3 separate regions of the Homo sapiens genome follow, and all the other regions are linked to region 3. Evidence: promoter capture Hi-C in human tissues and cell types (Jung and others, 2019). All regions are on one chromosome and are shown on one strand. The core of a region is centred on a gene start or on the middle of the fragment in contact, and the rest is flanking DNA. Distances in the headings are between cores, read along the strand shown. Region 1 overlaps PCED1B (PC-esterase domain containing 1B). Region 2 has its middle 56 kb from the start of PCED1B. Region 3 holds the start of SCAF11 (SR-related CTD associated factor 11).

Region 1 (2,948 bases), core at 394-2,893, 1.2 Mb before region 3:
TAGTTGGGACCACAAGTGTGCATCCCATGCCCAGCTAATTTTTTAAAATTTTTTGTGGAGACAGGCTCTTGCTTTGTGGCCCAGTCTGGTCTTGAACTCCTGGTTTCAAGTAAACCTCCTGCCTTGGCCTCCCAAAGTGCTGGGATTACAGCCATAAGCCACCATGCCCAGCCACTTCCCACTTCTCTAGACACTCATTTATCTTCCCATCAAACTGTGGCTGAATTTCTCAAATAATTGTCTTGTGACCTTTGAACAGTCTCCCTAAATGTAAATATTGCATTGACCAACAATGGGAATGATGGCAGCACATTCTCACCAGGCAATTTCAGAGAGCTGCTGTATAATTTTTCTTGAAGCACTGGCTGGGAATACATAATTGGGTGGAAATATACTTTGCTTCTGAAATGTGTGGATAAAGTCATTTTTATTTTTGATGACTGGTTTTGTTTTAATTGTGAAGAAATCCTTAGGTTGATCTGTATCCTGGCAATCATTTAAAAATTTTCATGTTGGCGGGGCGTGGTGGCTCACCACCTGTAATCCCAGCACTCTGGGAAGCTTAGGCAGGAGGATCACTTGGCCCAGGAATTCAAGACCAACCTGGACAACATGGTGATATCCCTTTCTTAAAAAAAAAAAAAAAAAAAAAAAGAATTTTGATGTCTAACAAATATTGGAAACAATATATATATTTTGAAGATATAGCTTAGGGAGGAGGGGAATGTTGCAATATATATTTTGGGAAGCTGAGCACAGTGATCAATGTCACATTTGTTTTCAGTTTTATGGTTAAATATTTTACTTTCCCCCAATTTTTCTTAGTCCTTAAAAAGTGTGTCTTTGATTAAAACATTATTTTTTAATTGGTATAGTTTTAATTTTATATGTTTTCTTACATAAAACTTCATCATCTAGGTTTTAAAGTTTCAAATTCATTTAATATGTTAGAATAATTCCAACATTTTGCATTCTGTAAACTTTTTATGTCTTGGGATATGATCCTTTCTTCTTGGGATCTTCTGAAAGCCCGCAGGGAACCATAGGGTTTGTATAAGCCCAGAGGGCCTTTTCTCATGTCTTTATGTTTGTCTCTGTGACTCACCTTTGAATGTTCCCCAACCCTTTCCTGTTACTGAAATTCTGCTCCTTCATTAAGACTCACGTTAAAAGACAATTTTGTCAGAGAGCCTTCCCTACTCTCCTAGATAGAAAAATCTCTCCTTCCTCTGAGGGATGCCTCTACTTAACCTTTGGTTCTGTTTTGTTCTATAATTAACTGCCCATGTGCCATTCTATCCCACTCTATGCTAGTTCTGGATGGCAGAAGTGGGTCTCACCCATCCTTGTACCCCTCAGGGCCCAGTGCCTGTGCCTAGTAATCATCGGCACTCACTGAGCACTCACTTTGTGCCAGGCCTATTCCATTCTCACAACCCGGTGAAGGAGGAAGTATTATTATCTCCATTTTATAGATAAGTAAACTGAGGCATGGAGAGGTTATATAAATTGCCTAAGGTTGGCTGGGCATAGTGGCTCACGCCTGTAATCCCAGCACTTTGGGAGGCCGAGGTGGGTGGATCACCTGAGGTCAGGAGTTTGAGACCAGCCTGATCAACATGGTGAAACCCAGTCTCTACTAAAAATACAAAAATTAGCCTGGTGTCATGGCACACACCTGTAATCCCAGCTATTCAGGAGGCCGAGGCAAGAGAATTGCTTGAACCCGGGAGGCAGAGGTTGCAGTGAGCCAAGATCGCGCCACTGCACTCCAGCTTGGACAATAGAATGAGACTCTGTCTCAAAAAATAAATTAAAAATAAATAAATAAATTGCCTAAGGTTGCCCAGCTAGTAAATGGCAGAACTATTCTTTTGACAATGTATCTTCTTCTTCTTCTTCTTTTTTTTTTTTTTTTTTTTTTGAGGCAGTGTCTCCCTTGGTCACCTGGGAGTACAGGGGCATGATCACGGCTCACTGCAGCTTCAACCTCCCAGGCTCAATCAATCCTCCCTCCTCAGCCTCCTAGGTAGTTGGGACTTTAGGCTCATGCCACCACACCCATTATTGACAGTGAATCTTCTGAATAATTAGATAAGCTTAAGGTTTCCTTTTGTTTCTTTAGGAAGAAGTATGGCTCCAAAGCCTGAGCTTTTAATCTCAGCTATAAATACTTGTTTAAATTAAGAAGAAAAAAAATCATATTATCTAGAAAGAAATATTTGCATGTAGCTTTCCTTGTTATTCTCTGTTGAAAAACAAAACAATATTTTGTGCACAGCTTTAAATTTTTCCATGAGAAAACAAAGCAGGTGTGAAATAACTTAGTTCGATTTTCATCACTCTGTTAGCTAGTCTTCTTAAAAGCCGATGGAAAACCCAGTGCTGCACTAAAGCTATATTTGTGTTTCAAATGTTTAGGCTTATGCTGACTACTCTAGATTCCAACCAGTGGCTGAATTAAAAGTTCCCATGGATGAAAAACAAGGGCGATTGGAGAGCTAATAATGACGAGTGCTTTCAACTGATGAACAGGTTGGATTGTGACAATTCTGCTCCAGGACTAGCTACAAAAGTCCATTTACTCAGTAACAGGAATCTAGGGTTGAGTCAGCAGGCCTGGATTTCTTCCACCTCTAATGCTTACTTTATCTTTGTGCTACTTAGTTTTTTACTTCTTAAATGGGGGAAATAGCACCTATGCTCCTCTGAAGGGATTACCCAAAAGAGTTTTAAAAATGGACATTATTTTATTATTGTTGCTATCATTATTGTTACCATTTTTGTAGTATTTAAATTCTATGTGTAATAGTGTTTCTATGGAAAAAGAAACTTTTTTATTTTTGTTTTTTGAGATAGAGTCTCACTCTGTTGCCCAGGCTGGAGTGCAGTGGTGCAATCTTGGCTCGCTACATCCCCTGTCTCATGGGCTAAAGTGATTCTCCTGC
Region 2 (3,116 bases), core at 345-2,844, 1.0 Mb before region 3:
GTTATATATCAACTCCAGTCCAAAAAAAATTCCCCAAGAGTAACTATTAATATGTTCCATTTCACTTTATTTGGGATTACTAAGATTGTTAAAAGAAGATGATAAAAGACGGAGACTGGGCACAGGGTGATGAAGAATGCAGAGACCTTCATTTGGTACTGGCAGTACATTCAAGCATCTTAAGTTTAAACTGGGAAGAATCTCAATCATTTCTTGGACCAGCTACCTAAAACTAATAGAAAAAAGGCAATGTTTGAAAACTAAATGGATTTTTGGCATTCAACAGCTAGAGAAAATGAGTTTGGGGGCTGAGGGTTTGGGGGAGGGAGGGCGGTATTTTATAAAGGTCACTGTCCCAAATGGAAGTCAAATGCTTCATCTTCTTTAACTGCAACAGAATACAGCTTTTTCAAAAAATGAATAACCAGTGAAGGATATCTTGGTTTTCTTTCTTACCCATTAGAGATAACTGATAAAAGTTAGGCAATAGAAGAGCTAGTTGGTAAAAATTCATATTAATTAATTTGTTGGTAAAATTATATATTCTTATAAATTATAATAAAGCCATAATGTAGAATTATAATTATATCAAAATTATAAGTTATTTTGTTGGTAAAAATTCATACTATTTTATGTCTCCTTGGTGGCTACTCTGACACATTTTCTTTAGTTTTTTTTACTAGATCTAAATGAATCAGAGGGCAAAGATCTACATTTATCTTGTCAATTTCCCCATATCCTAATTATATGATATAATTATTGTATTTTATAATTATTTTATGTGTACATAATATGTACTTAGCATATATATCATATAATTATTGGATATATTATATTTTTCTTGTATCTTTGTCTCAATGCTACAAAGAGAATAATAGTAAGGATAATAAATTACTTTCTAACATTAGCTCTGACCATCATACACTGTAACAGAGCTTTGGCCAATGCGTGGGCAGTGGCATGCTGGAGCTGGCTGTAGTAGCAGCTCAGAAGAGCTGATTGCGAGCATTTCTTTCCAACTCCTTTTTCAGTGACCTCAAGCTGGAAGCTTAAAATGAGACATAGTGGGAGTAGTTATACCATAAATACAGTACAAATCAGGGCTTTTCCTCCTAACAAACTAGTTTACCAGCACATCATTGATTAAATGTCAGAAATATATATATATAAAGATCTATTTTGTGTGGTATCAGGTGGCAGGAGAGAGGAAAAGGAGAGGTTTTGATTGCTGGAGAAGTGAAAGGGTCTTGAATTCAGCATCAATTCATAAAATTGGTTGAATCATAGAAATCTGCTAAGCTTCAACTATTTTTGTTTACAACATATCATATGGTTCAACCTAATACATGAGGCTGCAAGTAACAGAAACCCCTACAAACAATAGCTTATATAAATAAAACTTTTTGTCACATTGCAAGGAATCCAAAGGTAAGAAACGTCCTGATACAGCTATTCAATGAACTCAGCGATGCTGTCAGAGACCTATCATCCTGTTGCATCATCCTTAGAAAATTGACTTTTGTCCAGGTGAGATGGCTCACGCCTGTAATCCTGGCACTTTGGGAAGTGCAGGTGGGCAGATCGCCTGAGGTCAGGAGTTCGAGATCAGCCTGGCCAACATGGTGATACCCCGTCTCTATTAAAATTACAAAAATTAGCTGGGCATGGTGGTGCATGCCTGTAGTCCCAGCTACTAGGGAAGCTAAGACATGAGAATCCCTTGAACCGGGGATGTGGTTGCAGTGAGCCGAGATCATGCCACTGTATTCCAGCCTGGGCCACAGGATGAGACTCCGTCTCAAAAAATAAAAGTTGACTTTTGTCCTCAGGCTTGTCATCTTATGGTCACAAATGTCTGCTGTGCCTCCAGGGACTATGTCTTCATTGCAGGCAGAAGAGAAGAGAAAGGCAAAGGCTGTCTTCTGTAAGTTTATCAATGTTAATCAGAAAGACAAAAGTTCTTTTCTATGTTATCTGTGTTAATCAGAAAGACAAGCCCTGGAGGCTCATTCAAAAACTTCTGCTTTCATCTCATTGACCAAAATTTGTCACTTCATTCCCAGACAAAGTTACAAGATTACTAAGATTACTAAGGCTGGTTTAGACCAATCATAATTTATCCCTGGCCCTGGGATGAATCACGATTGGTTTAAACCCATCCATAAATACTCGACAGAGGGAAAGATCTCAGCAGCCACCTGAACGAACTTAAGGTTCCATTGGCTTGGGGAGGGAGGGGTGGATATAGGAAGAACAACAAAGGAGATCTATCACAATGCCCTTGAATTATGAATCCAGGAATCTAGAAACAAAGTAACAAGCTTTCCCATTTCTTGGTTTAGCTATGTAAAAGTAGTTCTATGTGTGTGTGTGTGTGTGTGTGTGTGTGTGTGTGTGTGTGTATCAGTGGTTGTTAAGCATTGTATTTAATTAGCATGCAGCTCAAAAAGTAGTTTGGCAAAATTTATATATTATATGATCACAGCATTAAAATTTATTCTTGAAGTCTCAGTCTTTACACTTTAATCTTTACGTGGCACAGTGGTCTGTTTACAACTTTTAAAAAAGATTGAGAGGGCCTTAAAGTAACATCACTGATCTAGCACGTTGGCCTAATAGATTGTTGGGAGAAGATAATGATATAAGATAAGGTATGTTATAATATAAAAATTTCTGAATAAAGAGCCTAATGCTAGCCATTTTAAGGAAAGCAGAAGGAGTAAATATACTCTTCTGCAGTGGTGATGGCATCATTTAAAAACTCTCACAAGTTATTTACCTACCTTGACATTGCAGGATCATGTTATCCAAGTGATTTGTAGTCTTGCCTCTGGAATAATGGCAGATCAACCAGTATAAAACCCTGGGTAATATACTAGTCTGAGTTAACTGTTTATACTTCGCTTTCCTGTTGATTTACCTATGGCAAATAAGACAATGCATGTCAGTTCTGCTCTTGGCTAGACTTTGTAGAGTAGTAGGTACAATGCATGTTTTCCTGACATGGTTATAAAGTATTTTTTGTCACATTTATAAGCACGGCTTCAAAATTGGACACACTTAGGTTTTATCCAGAAGCTGCCCTTTACTGTCAATGTGGCTTAAAATAAGTTATT
Region 3 (3,001 bases), core at 300-2,799:
ATGAAAGTGCCAGAAAAGCGACGTCCTCAGGGCGGGAGCAGGGGACGCCGCAACGTAGTCTGCGAGAATGCAGGAAGGCGGCAGTGAAGCGGTCGGTCGGCGGGGCCGCGGCAAAGTGGGGAGGAAACTCATCCCGGGCAGGCGTCAGGGTGGCTGGAGAGCGCAGCACGCGCGAACAGAACGGGGGCAGGCGACAGGAAAACGTGTGAGCGCGCGGCTGAAAGCGACTGGGACCTGGGTGAGCCGCGCGCGGGGAGCAGAGCTTAGTCCTGCGGGAGCCGCAAGCAGGACAAGGGCGTGGGTGGGAGGACTGGAAGGTCAGCTGGTAGATGGGGGACACTGAGGGCAGGCAGAGCAACCGGAAGCTTGCTGCAGTCGACGAGAAGAGAAACTAGGAGGTTAAATAATCAGTGACTTTGAAAAAGTCAAAATACCTCCGAGGTAAAACAAAACATTTAACAACCCGCCGGGGGAAAAAGTGGAGGATGGCACACACGTCACTATCTAACCACAACGCGGAGGCCTTTTAAGTAAATAATGATAAAGTTTTTGTTGTTGTTTGAGACAGGGTCTCGCTCTGTCGCCCAGGCTGGAGTGCAGTGGAACGATCTCGGCTCACTGCAACCTCCGCCTCCCGGGTTCAAGCGATTCTCCCACCTCATCTTCCCGAGGAGCTGGGACCGCAGGTGCGCGCCACCACGGCCGGTTAATTTTATTTTTTGTAGAAACGAGATCTTAATACGTCGCTCAAGCTGGTCTCGAACTGCTGAGCTCAAGCGATCCGCCAGCCTCGGCCTCCCAAAGCGCTGGGATTACCGGCGTGAGCCACCGCGCACCTGGCCCAAATTTAATTTTGTGATGTGGGGTTAAGACATGGGAAAGCCCCTAGGCTCGGGGAGTCAGGCGGGAAAGCTCTCCCCCTGGCATCTAAAAAAATGCCCACCAGAAAGGAGGAAAGGTGGGCTTCCAAATTGCCGACTCTTCACTCCACAGGCTGCATTTCAGGTGGGCAGCGCAGCCAGGTGAACACTCAATCCACCGCAAACATGCGGACACTCTTTTCAATATCAGATTACCATAAAGATAAGGAGCACACCCTGCGCAAAATCCTTCCTGTCCAGTTCCCTTAAAGCCTCTTTCATTGTCCTCCGCGACGCAGCCTGTAAAACTGCCAAAGGAGGGCAGAGGCCAAAGTCCACGCGCTGCGCATGCGCACCATCCGCAGTGTGGGCGAAGGGCGGTGCTGGAAGGACGTTTCCCAGAAGGCCCCTCCAGCGCAGCTGCCCTTCCTCCCGCTCACAGGCCGCGTGACGTGACTCCACCCACCACGCTTCTCGGTCTCAAACAGCAGTTTGCCAGCGCCCCCCTGCGGCCCAACTGGGTACTACGAACATGCACTCAGGGCCAGAGCGAGCGAGTAAGCAGAATGTGGCGAGTCCGGCTGCCGCCGTCGTCACCTTAGCGCGCCGACAGCGAGGGAAGGGAGGAGGAGGGAGACGCGCAGGGAGGGGAGGGGAGGGAGGAGGCTAGACAAGGCGGGGGAAGGGGGAGTAGCGGTGGCTTAAGCCGCGCGGAGCAGCGCAACCTGGGTCGCTCCCTGCTTCGCCGCCGCCTCCGGACCGAGCCAGCGGAGTCAGTGTCCTAGAGACCCTGTAACACCACAAAGCGGACGAAGGAGTCCATGTTGGGGAACTTGGCAGCGGAGTGACTGGGACCTGGGAACCTACTGTGGGGCCGCGGCCGGACCGAGCGCCTCGACCTCGGTCTGAGGTAAACACTGGTCGACCCGCGGGGTGGATGGGCTTGGGCAGCTGTCTGGGAGAGACGAGGGTTAGCGGCCGGCGCAGAGCGCTGGAGCGGGCCTAGGGCGACGCGAGGGCTGACAAAGTTTCGGAATCTCGCGCGGCCCGTGCGACGTCGTGCGCTGGGAGGAAAGTTGGAGCTACCTCTCGAAGTGGGGGAGGCTGCGGCCGGGAGGGCCCCTTTCCCTCTCGCTGCCCCGCGAGGGAGGCTCGGCCCGGCCCTGGGCCGCCGCCGCCTCTCTGTCGCACTCTGTCCCATTTCCTCCTTGTGGCCTACGCGTCTCCCGCCGCCTTAGCTGGCGAAGCCTGTCCCCGTCCGGGTGCAGGGTCCTACGGGGGGGGGGGAAGGGGCTCCACGCCAGAACCGCCACAGACACCCTCCTCCCTGCAGTGGAAACGTGTCCTGCTGAGCTTCCGGGCGCTCCCGACCGCGGTGTCGGCTTTTCTTGGGAGACTTTGGTCGCGAGCGTCCAAGCCCGCTAGTGAAACCAAACTTTACTACGCCGTGACCTCTCGAGTGCGCGAATGGGGAAGAGCCGGCGCTTCTAAGCATCAGCCTTTTTCACTCCTTGATCTGAACTTCAAACTACTCATCCACCCCCAGTGTTTTAAATTCGCTACCTGGGCTGACAACTACGGGGCCGGGAGATATAAATTTAGCCTAATCAGTCGCCCCTTCTGAGACCTAGGAATTTTGAACCATTAAAAAGATTTCCTACAGATGGCTGGCGGTCTTGCCACCAACACGTATTTTGAAGTATTGTTTCAAAAGTAGACGCCTGATTTAGAGTACTTGATTTAGACATTCACGGATTCAAATGTTGAATTTTGAAATACTTCCAATATATTTCCGTATTGTATTACATACAGTGTCTACCAGCTGACTGTTGTTCATTCATTTTGGATTACATTTTGGCTAACATGCTACCACTGACCTAAGATACTTAAGCAAAACTGCTGAAAAATGTTTTTAATGCTTTGTGTAGTAGATGCTGATGTTAAATTTTTTTCTCCGATTTGGGAATTTTCCCCGAATTTTGGGAAAAGCATATTAATAAATGCATTATTTTTTCGTTTTAAAAGAAAAATTAATTTCTACATATCACCACCTACCTCAGCAGCAGAATATCAGGGCAGTACATTTTAAAATAACGGTTGGTTTTTGTATTTTATTAGTAATTGTATTAAAATTTTGACAT

The links. The method cuts DNA at HindIII sites, captures the fragments that hold promoters and counts their contacts. A contact is called where the count stands out against the background at its distance.
Region 1: a fragment that was not itself captured here is called in contact with the fragment with the promoter of SCAF11 in region 3 in 1 of the 25 tissues and cell types used here (IMR-90 fibroblasts).
Region 2: a contact is called between a fragment that was not itself captured here and the fragment with the promoter of SCAF11 in region 3, in 1 of the 25 tissues and cell types used here (lymphoblastoid cells).

The regions. Positions count from the first base shown.
Region 1 is chr12:47,219,045-47,221,992 of GRCh38, reverse strand. The region is part of intron 3 of PCED1B (PC-esterase domain containing 1B); the gene reads right to left. Among named protein-coding and RNA genes, the nearest start is that of PCED1B-AS1, 4.1 kb to the right of the region's middle. RefSeq lists enhancers at 1-555, 851-1,351. The HindIII fragment of the contact is 4,388 bases long and covers 1-2,948 here.
Region 2 is chr12:47,022,536-47,025,651 of GRCh38, reverse strand. No RefSeq gene overlaps it. Among named protein-coding and RNA genes, the nearest start is that of PCED1B, 56 kb to the left of the region's middle. The HindIII fragment of the contact is 4,816 bases long and covers 1-3,116 here.
Region 3 is chr12:45,989,122-45,992,122 of GRCh38, reverse strand. It overlaps SCAF11 (SR-related CTD associated factor 11), which reads left to right and starts at 1,549. Exons shown (of 15, transcript NM_004719.3): 1 at 1,549-1,770. RefSeq lists enhancers at 436-635, 1,116-1,185, 1,196-1,395, 1,114-1,827, 1,636-1,845 and 1 more and silencers at 1,516-1,565, 1,906-2,005, 2,406-2,475. The HindIII fragment of the contact is 22,524 bases long and covers 1-3,001 here.